2 separate regions of the Homo sapiens genome follow, and region 2 is linked to region 1. Evidence: promoter capture Hi-C in 16 types of primary human blood cells and fetal thymus (Javierre and others, 2016). All regions are on one chromosome and are shown on one strand. Each heading gives the region's core, a stretch centred on a gene start or on the middle of the fragment in contact. The rest is flanking DNA. Distances are from core to core; before and after follow the strand shown. Region 1 overlaps OVCH2 (ovochymase 2). Region 2 holds the start of OR2D2 (olfactory receptor family 2 subfamily D member 2).

Region 1 (6,965 bases), core at 3,721-6,220:
ATGTCATAGTCAGCGGGGCTGAGGGGAAGCTGCACTTCCCAGAAAGCCTCCACCTATATTATGAGAGCAAGCAGTGAGTAACCCCCTTTGTACTCCTCCTCCTTACTCCCACCTCCGGTCTGGGCCCACCAATTGGACTGTGATAGTCGTTTTCTGTCTAGAAATAACGCCCTCTCCATGATCTGCCTACAGACGGTGTGTCTGGACCCTGCTGGTACCAGAGGAAATGCATGTGTTGCTCAGTTTTTCCCACCTAGATGTTGAGTCTTGTCACCACAGTTACCTGTCAATGTATTCTTTAGAAGACAGACCCATTGGTGAGTGGATTTTCACAGTGTCAAATGGAAACCAGTGCCAAGTGGGCTTAATGAGGCCTAGTTATCTTATGTCTGGCACTCAGCCATCTGTAAATGCCACACTTCTTGACTTCCGCTTTGAGACTCAGAATTGGGAGTGGGAAGGAACCAAATCTGAGCCTGGGTGATGGCTGCAAGGTCACAGGGCAATTTACTTGCCAAATCTGCTTCCCATCAAACCAGGCTTCCTAGGCCCATTTGCCAGACCTGGTGTCCATGAGGAATAAACTCTAGATATATTCCAGGGCCTCTCAGGATGTCCAGACAGCTCACTGCTTTCCTAGCTGTGAAAATGACCTTTCCCTGCCTCATCAAGCTAAGAAGGAAAATACAAATAGACAACCATGAGAAGGAGACAGGTTACTTACAAGAAACAGAAATGGAATGGTGTTTCTGTGGTTTCTCAGCTGGAGGTGATTTTGTACCCCCAACCCTCAGGACACATTTGGCAATGAATGAGAAGCATTTTTCAGTTGTCACAAGGGCAGGAATTGTCACTGGTAGAGGCCAGAAATGCTACCAAATATCCTACAAAAGATGCAGGATGGCAAGAACACAAAGAAGGTTCTGGCTCAAAATGTCAATTGTGACAAGACTGAGAAACTTTGGATTGGACAATCCTGAAATATCATGGCAAATTCAGTTCTTCTTAAATCATTGAATGGGAACTATTTTCTAGATTCTGAACAAAGAATCCTTTTTTCTCATCCTGCAGGAAAATTTTGTGGAGAAAGCCTCCCTTCATCCATTCTTATTGGCTCTAATTCTCTAAGGCTGAAATTCGTCTCTGATGCCACAGATAATGCAGCTGGGTTTAATCTTACCTATAAAGCTCTTAAACCAAACTACATTCCTGGTAAAACCATTTACTTTTAATCACATACTATCTCCACCTTCTGTAGAAGCTTAGGCCCCATAGGAATTAGGTGAGTGGCAGGGATCCCTCTCCCAAGGCCCAACTGACTCCACATGGGAGAGGGGCACAGGCCAACTAGAGAACAGGGGGCAGTCTCCCCCTCAACCCTGAGTTCACCCTGCTAGCTCGTAGTGATTGCCCCTCCAAGTGAGTCGAGAGGGCCTGATGAGTTCTGGAGAATCATGCACTACGTCTTTTCTTGTTCGCAGTGTCTGAAAATGCAATTGATATGCATCATTTTCAGGAGACAGGAGGGAGAGCAGTGAGAATTCTTCTTTATTTGAATGGTGCCATCTGTTTGGACTTTTTCTTACGTTTCAGATTCAGGTTGCAGTTACTTAACTGTCCTTTTTGAAGAAGGTCTCATACAGAGTCTAAACTATCCTGAAAACTACAGTGACAAGGCTAACTGTGACTGGATTTTTCAAGCCTCCAAACATCACCTAATTAAGGTATTGACTTTGGCTGTCCTTACGTAGCTATGGTAAATTCACAGAATAGCTAACATAAGCACCATGAGGTCAGAGGTTTTATCTGATTTATTCACTGCTGTGTTTTCAGTACCTAGAACCCAGCACCTGACACACAAAGCTGTCAATAAATACTTGCTGAATAATGGATCCGCCCAGTTTCCCCTGCAACTACACATTTTTTCCACTAGATGGCACTGTGCTCCTTACTTTAAAAAAAAAAAAAAAAAAAAAAAGTGCCGCTTTAATCTTTGTATTGAATTAGCCGGGCGCGGTGGCGGGCGCCTGTAATCCCAGCTACTCGGGAGGCTGGAGAATTGCTTGAACCCGGGAGATGGAGGTTGCAATGAGCCGAGATCGCGCCACTGCACTCCAGCCTGGGCTACAAGAGCGAAACTCTCAAAACACAAAACAAAACAAAACAAAACAAAAACTTTGTGTTGGTGACTTTTAGTCCATTCCAGAAACAAGCATGTCTTCCTTATTTATTAAACTGCTCACAAAACACATTGTAAGTTATAGATAACAAAATCAAGGTCAATCAGGCCAAAATCATCAAGCCTTTCAAGCAGAGAGGACAGAGCAAGCCTAGAGGAACCAGCGCAGAACAGGCTCAGGGAATCGCTGGTTTAAGAGGGTCTTAAGGTGTCCTGGAGTGGACAGTGGAAGGCAAGGTGGAAGTCACTGTATGGAGGCCTTTGAACGCCTGGAAATGGAGTTTATTCCACATTTGATTAGCAGTGTGTGGTTAGTTGTTTGTTCATTAAACACTAATGGACCATCTGCAGAGAGATATCATCAGGGAGGTAGAAGTAGGACTGCAGTCAGGGTGAGATTGGAATGAGGCATTTTCTCATAGATCTTTCTTTTAAAATAATAATTGAAAACAAGACAGTGTACGATGGAGAGAAAAGAGAGCAGAAAATAAAGGGGAGAGGAGTGAGGGATGATGAGACACCAGCGTTCTCACTTAAGAGATGGAAAGAACTCTGAGATGTGGGAGGAGAACCAAATTGGTGTGTTTTTATGACAGCCTGGAGAATGCAGCCTTTAACTTAAAACACAAACAAAACCAAAGAAAAAGATGTGACCAATCATTTGGATACCACACTAAGTTAGAACTTAAAGAGATGAGAACTGAGGTGTCCAGTCCCCACCCCACACCTCCATAAAAAAGGGAGAATAATTAGATGGGAAATTGAACAATTGAGAGGAGTTGGGATTGGTGGTATCTGAAATATCACGTGAAGTCAGATGTTAATGGCAGAAACAAGATCACACAGGTTTTATGAATGAGTGGGAAAAGATGATACAGAGGCAGTTGGTATAGATTTCTTTCTAAAAGTTCATCAAACCTAAACAGATTTGGGGCAAAAATTTCAGCAGAATTAAGGAAAATTTGTTAGTGGTGGAGGATAAAATTTAGGTTGTGAGCATGTTTCCAGGTGGAGGAAGAAGAGGAAATTTAGTTGAAAATCTGAAAATGCCAGAGCCAGAAGTGATTGAAAAATATCTCTTCAATAAGTAAAGTTTGAGTGTCGTGCATCAGTGAAGCGATGCTCTCATACTCTGCCAGTGACAGCATCATTTTGCAGAACTCGTGTAAGATAGTAATTTGGAAACTGGTGTTAAAAGTCATAGGAATATGCTCACCATTTGACTTGGAGAGAAAAGGGCCCCTTCCCAGAAAGTATCCCAGTAAGGGTTTAATAAATGTTTGAATGAATCCTATTTCTGATACAGGTCCCCCTCCCCACGCCTACCTTTACCATTAGTAATTATTTGCCTCCAGTTTTGTTTTATCCACACAATCCTTTCTGTTTCTTGCTCAGAGTCTGGGTCCCATTGAATCCCCATCAACTGTGTGTTAAAATTAGAGTTCCTATTTCATCAGCCCTCTCTCCCACCACTCTTCACTTCAAATTCAATTGGCTAGTGCTCACCAAACTGCTCCAAGATCACTCTTTATTGTTTCTTTGTTTCTCCTTCACACTGTTCCTTCTATCTAGATAGTTCCCCTCCCTTTTCCTGAAACAAAACAAGTGCCCCATGCAGGGAATGATACAAGAGAAGAAAAAAAGTAAATGCCTAAAGATATTCACTGCCAAGTTTTTAAGATAGCAAAAAATACAGGTCTCAAGGATAGAGATAAATGAAATATTATGCTGCCAATAAGCATCACAATTATAGAAACTATGAGAAAAGGTTTGTCATGATTTATTCTTGGTGACCCTAGGTTGATTCCAGGTGATCAACTTTCTTTTCTAGGTCATTACTCATCATAGCTTAATAATCTACTCAAGAATTTTGCTGAGGTTTACATTTAAGCTTAGTATCCAAAATCAGCTCTCTCTAACTCATACAAGGATTTCCTTTTTCATGCACATTCATGAGGCTCACTACATTTGACTCCGAGCCCACTTATGCAAATGCTTTCAGTAGCTCAGATGATACTTTGTTTTATATCAGCAATTAGACTCACTTACATCTGTGCCTTCTCAGAATTTTGCAGTGAGGCATGGAAATATAGTGGCAACAGGACAAAGCAGGTGAGAAGAGGAGCCAGCTATATCCCGCTGGGTAGAAAGACACGGTCTCCAAGGGGCACAACAAATTTCAGTCTTGATTCAGGAGAACTAGAGGTTCAAGATGAAACATCAGGAACCAGGTGAACAACACTAAGATGTCCAGAGAAGCAGTTTTGTGTATATGCAATTAGTTGAGTTGAGTGCCTAGTTGCTTCCAAGGAAAAAAATCCCCATGCGGTAGCTCTCCTAATCTCTTAGAGATGTTAGGAAGCTAAAATATTTGCACAGTTTCCTGCCCTTTGATTCAGGCCATATTTGGTAGCTATTTCAAAAAGTTAGAGCCTGTGATATAGAATCCTTCCCTTGGTAATCTGACCCACTCCTGAATACCCCATTAACTTTCTTATCTAAGGTCTTACTCCAGAACAAGTTGAGCAATCCAAATTTCTCTGCTGAATCAAAGTCAGGTAATTCATTCAGATTGTTTACTCTGGATGTAACTTCGTGTCTTCTCAGCTTTCATTTCAGAGTCTGGAAATAGAAGAAAGTGGAGACTGCACTTCCGACTATGTGACAGTGCACAGCGATGTAGAAAGGAAGAAGGAAATAGGTTTGTGTCCTCTGAGCCTCAGCTCGCTCTGGTTTGTGTTTGGACCCAGTCTTGAGATGGGAACGAAAAGGAGACAGATCAATCTTCCTCCATCTTCCTGCACCACCTCCACCCCTCCCTGTGGTCTCACCATCACTCCTTTGTCTTCTTCATTAGGGGCAGGAAGAGAAAAAGGGAGAATCAAAGAACCACTGAAACAGAAATGCAAAAGGCCCATGAGGAAACTAGGAGTCAGAAAGGGAAAGTTCCATTGAAACAAGTCCTGAGGCTAGAACCAGTTCCCTTAACATCATTGTGTGTGGGAGTGTTCAGGAGAGAAAACCAAATTGAAATGTCATGGGGTTAATTAAGGAGTGAGCTGCCTTTATTTAGAAAATGAATTGTGAAAAGCGTATTTCTCAACAATTACCTGAAGGATGATTTTCTTTTTTTCTTCTCTCCAATGCCATGGCTATCTGCTGGGTGCTTGACAATGTCATGCCTGGGCTGGCCTTCAACAAGCTCGGCTGTGTGGCTATGATGTCCCCACCCCTGTGCTGAGCCCCTCCAGCATCATGCTCATCAGCTTCCAATCAGATGAAAACGGGACCTGCAGGGGCTTTCAGGCTACAGTCTCCTTCATTCCTAAAGCAGGTAAGAAGATAGAGTTACCAACTCTTTGGTTCCCAGTTCTAATCCTTGTGATGTGAATTAGAGGTCTTTAGAGCCCAACACAGAGACAGTCGATTCTCACTATCTGCAGTAATTACATCCTATCAAGTCACCATGGACACTGAATAAGAGAATACTCAGCCATCCCTCCTAGGAAATGTACAAGGTTAGGTGCCTTCAAGGTACATTTTCATCAGCTGATCAGTACATAAACTTGTTTTATGTGTGTTTCTGTTTAAAGATATGTTATTTAATATATATTGCTGGTTCATTACAATGAATTCACGGCCATTAAATTCATGGCCAACAGCACTATGACTCATGTCTGAACAAAGCTTATCTAACACGTGTGTTTTCTATGTGAGGCACACCACAGAGTTTTGCACTTAGGAACACTAGACGGCACTTCAGCACTATGCTTGGGGCCATTTTAAAGGTTGAGGTCACCAATAAAAAGAACAGAAATGAAAAAAAAGTGCCACTAAATAGACCATGAAAAGGACATTTGTTTATAGGATGACGGCTGAAGCAAGAAGGCAAAATATTGCCTTGTTTTACCTCGTGTGGAAACGTGTGTCTAACAACATGTATTTTTTGTCACTCTTCACATGCCTATGAATGATCCTGAGGACAACATGAGTATCACTTTTGGAGCTATAAATAATTTTTAGTGAGTAGGTGAATTCACGTATAGGGAGTTCACAAAGAACGAGTGACTGTATGTCTGAATCCTGATGGCCAATCATTACTAGATGTGTAATCTTAAGAGTCACCTCAGACTCATTTTTTTCAACCCTACTAAGGGAAAACAATGCATCCCTAATAAGAATGTAGTGAGGATTAAATCAGATAAGATACACTTGGCCACAAGCAAGTGTGCAGTACATAACAGAGACATAGAAACATGAAATATCTTCACCAGTTCCAGGCCCTGGACATTCGAACTACCTAACCAGCTTCCTTACACATTCTCATACCCATGATTCTTCTTTCCAAACCCCACAAAGCCAATTATCTGCTTTCCAAGTTGTTCATTCTTTTTAGGTATTAAGCAGCTGCAGATGGCAAAGCCAGGTTATAGTTAAAATGCCCCACTCCTCATTTGAAATACCTATAGAGTCTAGCTGGCTGAGGTGCCCCAGAATTCTAACAATAGCTTCATAAATCATTTTCTGATAAATCTCCAACCCTGGCTGTCTTTGTGGAAACTGAGTAATTGTATCATACTTATACCCAGTATACCCAGATTTAAACATCTCCATATCAGAGGATGAATCAATGTTTCTGGAGACATGAGATGTGCCAAATGGAGAAACCAATGTTTCTGGTAAGCTGTTTTGGGGACCAATTGATACACACAGAGTATAATCCAGGGTTCAACCGGAGAAGCAGGTGATATGGATTTAATTCCATCTTCCTCCAAAATATACTAGA
Region 2 (7,428 bases), core at 4,438-6,937, 800 kb after region 1:
AACATTTCGTCCTCTACATTTGCATGGGAGAATAACATTTTTAAAGAAAAATCAGGAGAGATTGGCGTGCTGCCTTCTAGTGCATAATCCCAGGGTCAGTGAGAACTCCTAGCATCTGACAAGTCATAAATCACACTCATCTCTTCCTTACATTCCCCTCTCTGTCTCTTGCTACTTTGGCTCAGGTCAAATCAGTTCAAGAAACATGTGTTGGACACTTATAATGTATGATGACTGCTCTTATTTTCTGTGAATAAAGATGATTCAGATGTGATCTCTACCCTTGACTATCTTACAGTCACAGAGAAAGACAAATAATTTTAATATAATTTGTTAAGAGCTGTGATGGAGGTAAGTACAAGATGCTGTAGGTATACTTGTGCATCTAAGATAGATTAGTTGTTTGTGAGTGTGTGTATTGGTGTGTGTATGTCCGTGTGTATTGGAGGTAGGAATAGGGAAAGTTTGTGGGATTGTTTCTGGAGTATATTTTTCCTAGACAGAATCTTAAAAAATTCGTCTGGCTATGGTTATGAGCCAGATGAAGAAGGGATAGAAATCATAGCAATATCCTGTAACTTCACTTTCATTAAATTAACCACTGATTGTAGTCATCACTTTAAATTTTGTGAAGAATGCTTAGTTTTATGCTCAATATCTTCTTTTGTCAAAACTGAGAAAGATTGTTTGTCTATCATTTAATTTTCCTTGAGATTTAGATACATTATTGATACAGTTGTAATCAAATTCTAAAAAAAAAAAAAAATTCTACTCTAAGAAGAGTGAAAATTGTGGCAGAAAGAGTACTGAGTCTAAAGATCCTGAGCTGAACCAAATCCCGGAGCCTCTAAGAACTAACCAGGTAGCACCTTCCACCAGATGGACGGCAATTCAAAATGTAGCAATGTTTAAATTACCTGTATTCTCGAAATTTATTTTTATATCAGCTGTTTTGATAATACACTATTTTTCTCTTTAGAAGCAATTCTCTATTAGTTTGATGTGATAGATTATATAGATTCCTTAAACCAATATTGGCTGTGAATCTATGATATTCCAAGGACCACTGTAGGCACTGGGGATGAAACAATTTGGCCCCTCCCCTCTGGAGTTCTTTAGTGTTAGGAACTGGGTTTTCAGTCTGTATCCCCAGTCTTTAGCATATGCTTGGTACACAGTATTTGCTCAAAAAATAAGATTGATTGAATATTCAAAGTATGATGGGTGCCCAAGGAAAGTAATGATACCTTGATTTAGTGGGCATGTCTTTGAGTAGAGGGACTATGCGGAGCAAAAAACAGTGGGGTGTAAAAATGCAGTGTGTTCTAGTTAGTTGGTATGGGATAAGGCTGGTAAGGTTGCCTGCAGATGGATACGGGAGGGTGGAATTTATCTATATTCAGTGTGGGGCCGTAAGTAATCATCAAGCAGAGATGTAATTATTCATAATTATGTTTTATTTATCAGTTATTGAATGAGTTGATTTCCCTTGAAATAAAGGTAGGCACTTCTATAACTGCTAGGCACTACAGTTTTTAGATATTGGCAGCATCTATCAAAAGTAAAGATATGCCTACCCTTATATATTCCATCTTGGATAAAGCTCGTACCTAGCAATTCGAATGTTTGTAGTTTACCTTAACAGATATATTGGTAACAGTGAAAAACAATATATGTATAGGAATGTTCATAACATAATTGTTTGTGGTAGCATAAATTGGCCCCAATATTAATGTTCATCAATAAGAGAATAGTTAACTAAGTTTTGGTTTAACTGTAGTTTAACTGTAGTTAAACTGTAGTGTGGAATATAATGAAATCAATAGCAAGACATAGGTATAGCTATATATATTGGTCAAGAAGTGTCTCCAAGATAATAGCGATTGTTGGGAAAATTAAGTCATTAAATCATATGTTAACTACAAAAGTGTGCATACTCATGTACATACACATATGCATTTGTGTTTGTGTGTTGTGTGTGTGTATTAATTTGAATTAATAGACATCTGGAAAGATGTATACCAACCTGTGATCTATGGTTACTAATGGAAAGGGTATTGGGCTTGAGGGTGTTTGGAAAGAGACTTACTATTACCATACATTTGGGCGATGCATGTTGGACACACCACACAACTTACCATTTAAAGTGTATAATTCAATGGCTTTTAGAATATTCACAAAGTTATGCAACCATCACCACAATCAATTTTAGAAGTTTTTCGTTACTCCAAAAAGAAACCATACATTCCTTAGTCATCATCATCCAGTCCTCCTATAACCCCAGCCCTAGGCAACAACCAATCTACTTTCTTTCTCTATAGATTTGCCTGTTCTTGACATTTAATATAAATGAAATCATGCAATATGTCATCCTTTGTGACTACTTTTTTCACTTAATATAATGTTTTTAAGGTTTATTCATGTTGTACCATGTTCAATCCTTTATATGGATATATCACCGTTTTGTTTGTTTGTTTGTTTGTTTGTTTGTTTTTGAGGTGGGGTCTCTCTCTCTCACATGGACTGAAGTGCAGTGGAGTGATCTCAGCTCACTGCAACCTCTGCCTACCCTGTTCAAATGATTCTTCTGCCTCAGCCTCCCAACTATTTGGGACTATAGGCATGTGCCATGATGCCCAGCTAATTTTTGTATTTTTAGTAGAGACGGGGTTTCACCACATTGGCCAGGCTGGCCTCGAACTCCTGACCTTAAGTGATACACCTGCCTTAGTCTCTCAATGTACTGGGATTACAGGCGTGAGCCACCACACCCAGCTGATATATCACCTTTTCTTTATATATTCAAAGACATTTCACTTTTTGTCTTTGGATCACTGCACTTTTTGAGTATTATGAATAATGTTGCCATAAACATTCATGTATAAGTTTTTGTGTGCAACATATGCTTTCAGTTCTCTTGGGTATATACCTACTGGTGGGATGGCTGATTCATATGGTAACCTGCTAGCCATCCTAGTAGGTGTAAAGTTGTATGCTATTGTGGTTTTGGTTTGCATTTCCTTTATGGCTAATGACATTCAACATATTTTCATGTGCCTACTGGCCATTTGCATACCTCTTCTGGAAACAATGTCTATTTAGATTCTTTGCCCAGTTATTAATTATATTATTGGCCTTTTTATTACCAGGTTATGTTTCTTATATATTCTAAATATAAGTCCCTTATCAGATACAGAATTTGCAAAAATTTTCTCCCACTCTGTGGGTTGTCTTTTCACTTCCTTAATGGTGTCTTTTGAAGCACAAACATTTTTAATTTTGATGATGTCCAATTTATTAATTTTTTTCTTTTGTTCTGAAAAATATATATTTGATGTATATTTAAAATACAATTAAGCAAACAAAATGTTAAAATTAAGTAACTTATCTTCAAAACTGAGGAGGAATATAGAGTTCCTTTTAAGGATTAGGTAAGAGGCTTTTATCCTTTCAAAGATTTTAGAGTTTGGTGGCACTGGTTTTTATTTTACCATTGAATCAACATCCACACCTCCATTTACCTGATATAATGGTAATATTGTGTAACCATTACATTTATATGATTTGATATGAGACTGTTTTTGTTTTGACAGATTTTCCTAGATGTGTAAAAGAGGAGAATAACATAAAGAATAATCTGTATTTTGAGTTAAAAAAGAACCTTTTAAGTAATTAATCTGTACATTGTAAAGTAAAACAGTAAGGTGAAATTGTTTTCAGGCTTCTTCCTCTGGTGGTTAAAATAAAAGTGGAGAAGAGAAAAGAAATTAGGTCAAACTTTTCCCAGATTGGTTGTTAGTGGTAACTTTGGCCCAGGACAGCTACATTCCTGTCTGGAGAAAAGATGTTGCAGGAGAAATCCCAGGAAGTGAGGAAAGGAGTGTAGAGTCCATGGCTTACCAGTAGTGGGCAAAGGTGGAAGGGTTATAAATTGGATTTTGTCATACAGGTGATGCATGTTGGACTGAGCTGTTTGCTTAAGGCCTTCTGCCTGCAAAGTGAGCAGGGAGCAATGCTAAAAATCTAAAGCACCAAACAGTTAAGTAGAAGTGCAAAGGGACCTTCCTCCCAATGCCAAATTCCAACTTTAGTCTGAAGACCAATTAGGAATTGAAATCTTTCATTTCTTTGACTCACAGACCAATCCAGATGCTGAGACTCTGTTACTAGATTATGTAGGGTGTAATTATGTCTTTTTTTTTTTTTTAAGAAATCTCCTGGGGATTCCTGTAACCCAAGTGAGTTCTGCAACTTGGAGTAAAATGTTACTTCTTTATTTTTATTTTCCCCTAACTGAAAGTTGATGTTTCCTTCCAATTTGAATGCAAGTAACCAACCCACACCAATATTAGAAGTATTTATGACTTTGTCAGCAGTAGTAATTATAAGAATTTTTATATTGTATTGCAGTTGTTGGAGAGATCTCCAAATATTTAAACTCATCATTATTTTGAAATGAAGATGGTTATTAGACCCACCACTACATTTCAAAATTTTAGTGTATTAATAAAGAAGCACATATATTGCTGTTTACAAATCTGTTTTCTAAAATTATTTCGATAACTGTATTTTGATATAACTGGTTTCCTTAGTAATCCTATACATTTTATTTGATGTATTTAAAACGTTATTCTGAGATACTTTCACCAGACAGTTAAAGGATTGATAGCCCAACCCGTGTATAGGATCTTAAACTTTACACTTTAAAGTAAATTTATTTCCCTTCTTTTTGGAACAGCTCCACAAAATTGGATTATTATTTCAAATCTCTCTAGGGATATTGGCAAAACTTCTAAATGACTCTGCTTAACTATGTGATCAAATTATTATTTGTTTAATGAATTATGGTCATTTATGAAATGAAGTTCTCTGCTATGACTCGTAAAGGACACAGAGGTGAAAAAGACATGGAAACTATTTTCAAAGGAACTTTTACTTTTGCGGGGGGAGTGGACAGATAATGCATATAATTTTTAGCAGAGAGAGCTGGGGAGTAGTGCTGTTTGGGCTGAGTATGAAACTAGTCACGCTGGTGGCTTAAAATGAAAATTCTGTTTTGATGGTGTGTCTGTTATGTTGGAAGTTCATTCACAGTTGAGACTGAACAGAACTCAAGCTGAGGCTTCAGATAGGATTCCCAAGGGTATCCTGAGTTAATCTTTGGTTTCCCAGCTCCTGTAAGACAGGTTAGTTTCTTAAATAAAACATACCAGTACTTTGGCTCTTTCTGATTTCTTATACCTTCGTGTCTGTCCTTTCACGGAAAATACAACAGAAAACTATATTATCATAAGCGGGGAAGAGGAGATGTGACAAGAGCACTTACGACTCAGGGGTTTTAGTTAAGAACAAACAGAAATTAAATGGCAGGACTTTATAGATGAACTCAGTCTGTATTTAATATTGTATTATTAAAAGTGTGGTATTCAGAGTGAGAAAAATAATTTTAAAAATCTATTCTTGCCAGATGACATCAACAATGAATGCAACATCTTTTAAAGTTTGTTTTACAACACTGAAAATGTTCCAATGAAAGAAACATGATCATCTTATGAAGGGGGTTCTTGAAATTTTCAGTAGAAATTGGGGCAGTTCCTAAGCCTGCACTTCTGAATTATATAATTTTATAGGTATGCCTGTCTATGGTTAGCACATAGTGACTTCTTACTGAAAAGGACAACAAACTATGAGACAGATAAATCAGACACAAGTGACAGAATTCCTCCTTCTGGGACTCTCTGATGGGCCACACACCGAGCAGCTGCTATTTATCGTATTATTGGGTGTCTACCTGGTCACTGTGCTTGGAAATCTGCTTCTAATCTCCCTTGTTCATGTTGACTCCCAACTTCACACACCCATGTATTTTTTTCTCTGCAACTTGTCTCTGGCTGACCTCTGTTTCTCTACCAACATAGTTCCTCAGGCACTAGTCCACCTGCTTTCCAGAAAGAAGGTCATTGCATTCACACTTTGCGCAGCTCGACTTCTCTTTTTCCTCATTTTTGGGTGTACCCAGTGCGCCCTTCTTGCAGTGATGTCCTATGATCGCTATGTTGCAATCTGCAATCCTCTGCGTTACCCTAACATCATGACCTGGAAAGTGTGTGTCCAGCTGGCAACAGGATCATGGACCAGTGGCATTCTGGTGTCTGTGGTAGACACCACCTTCATACTGAGGCTACCCTACCGAGGCAGTAACAGCATTGCTCATTTCTTTTGTGAGGCCCCTGCACTATTGATCTTAGCATCCACAGACACCCATGCATCAGAGATGGCCATTTTTCTTATGGGGGTTGTGATTCTCCTCATACCTGTTTTTCTGATTCTGGTATCCTATGGCCGTATCATAGTAACTGTGGTCAAGATGAAGTCAACTGTGGGGAGTCTCAAGGCATTTTCTACCTGTGGCTCCCACCTCATGGTGGTCATACTTTTTTATGGATCAGCAATTATCACTTACATGACACCCAAGTCTTCCAAACAGCAGGAAAAATCGGTGTCTGTTTTCTATGCAATAGTGACTCCCATGCTTAATCCCCTCATCTATAGCCTGAGAAACAAGGATGTGAAGGCAGCTCTGAGGAAAGTAGCCACAAGGAATTTCCCATGAAGGCTTGGAATCTCACACTGACAGTGAGCTCAGAGAACCTTTTGGCTTCCTACTTCAAAGACTTGCTGGGAAGACATGGAATCAACCCAGGTGGATTGGATTTTTAAAAATGTACATTGGCACACTTGGTTTCTCAAGTCACCTGCTTGGCCCCCTTCCAAGTTGTACTTTCCTTCTTTTTCCTCCTTTCCTTTTCCTTCCTTACTGTTCTAAAGCTTTTTAATAAACTTTCTCCTGCTTTGAAAACAAAAGTACATATACACCATGGAATACTATGCAGCCACAGAATAGAATGAAATCATGTCATTCGCAGAAACATAGATGCAGCTTGAAACCATTATCCTAAGTGAACTAGCACAAAAACAGAAAACCAAATACTTCATGTTGTCACTCATAAGTAGGAACTAAACATTGGGTACATATGAAGACAAAGGTGGGAACAATAGACATTGGGGACTACTAGATTATGGGAGGGAGGGGGAAGGGTTAAAAAAACTACCTATTACCTACTCACTACCTGGGTGATGGATTCATTTGTACTCCGTATCTCAGCATCACATGATATACCTCTGTAACAAACCTGCGTGTGTACCCTCGATTTTAAAATAAAAGTTGAAAAGAAGAAAAAATGCACATTAGATTTCAAATTTTCACACCTATATGAAAATAGAATTTAAATCATGTCATTAGTAATTTTATATGGATGGCATGACAATAAAATAATATTTTAATATATTGGATAAAATAAACTTATATTATTAAAGAAGACTTGCTGGGTAGCCCTCTTCTTTGTGAATCTAAAATATGGTAAGACT

What was found. The method cuts DNA at HindIII sites, captures the fragments that hold promoters and counts their contacts. A CHiCAGO score of 5 or more calls a contact.
Region 2: a contact is called between the fragment with the promoter of OR2D2 here and a fragment that was not itself captured in region 1, in 3 of 17 cell types (M2 macrophages, M1 macrophages and M0 macrophages). The highest score is 8.1, in M2 macrophages.

The regions. Positions count from the first base shown.
Region 1 is chr11:7,689,817-7,696,781 of GRCh38, reverse strand. OVCH2 (ovochymase 2) reads left to right here. Exons shown (of 16, transcript NM_198185.7): 9 at 1-73; 10 at 193-317; 11 at 1,072-1,212; 12 at 1,594-1,724; 13 at 4,787-4,880; 14 at 5,382-5,513; 15 at 6,769-6,858. The coding sequence ends at 6,827. LOC105376533 (a long non-coding RNA gene) reads right to left here. Exons shown (of 11, transcript XR_007062576.1): 3 at 5,290-5,504; 4 at 4,229-4,801. Among named protein-coding and RNA genes, the nearest start is that of OVCH2, 13 kb to the left of the region's middle. RefSeq lists an enhancer at 4,569-5,768. The HindIII fragment of the contact is 1,796 bases long and covers 4,073-5,868 here.
Region 2 is chr11:6,890,759-6,898,186 of GRCh38, reverse strand. OR2D2 (olfactory receptor family 2 subfamily D member 2) reads left to right here and starts at 5,687. Exons shown (of 1, transcript NM_003700.1): 1 at 5,687-6,613. The coding sequence starts at 5,687. The coding sequence ends at 6,613. It overlaps LOC107984019 (a long non-coding RNA gene), which reads left to right. Exons shown (of 4, transcript XR_001748112.3): 4 at 1-274. The HindIII fragment of the contact is 9,743 bases long and covers 1-6,830 here.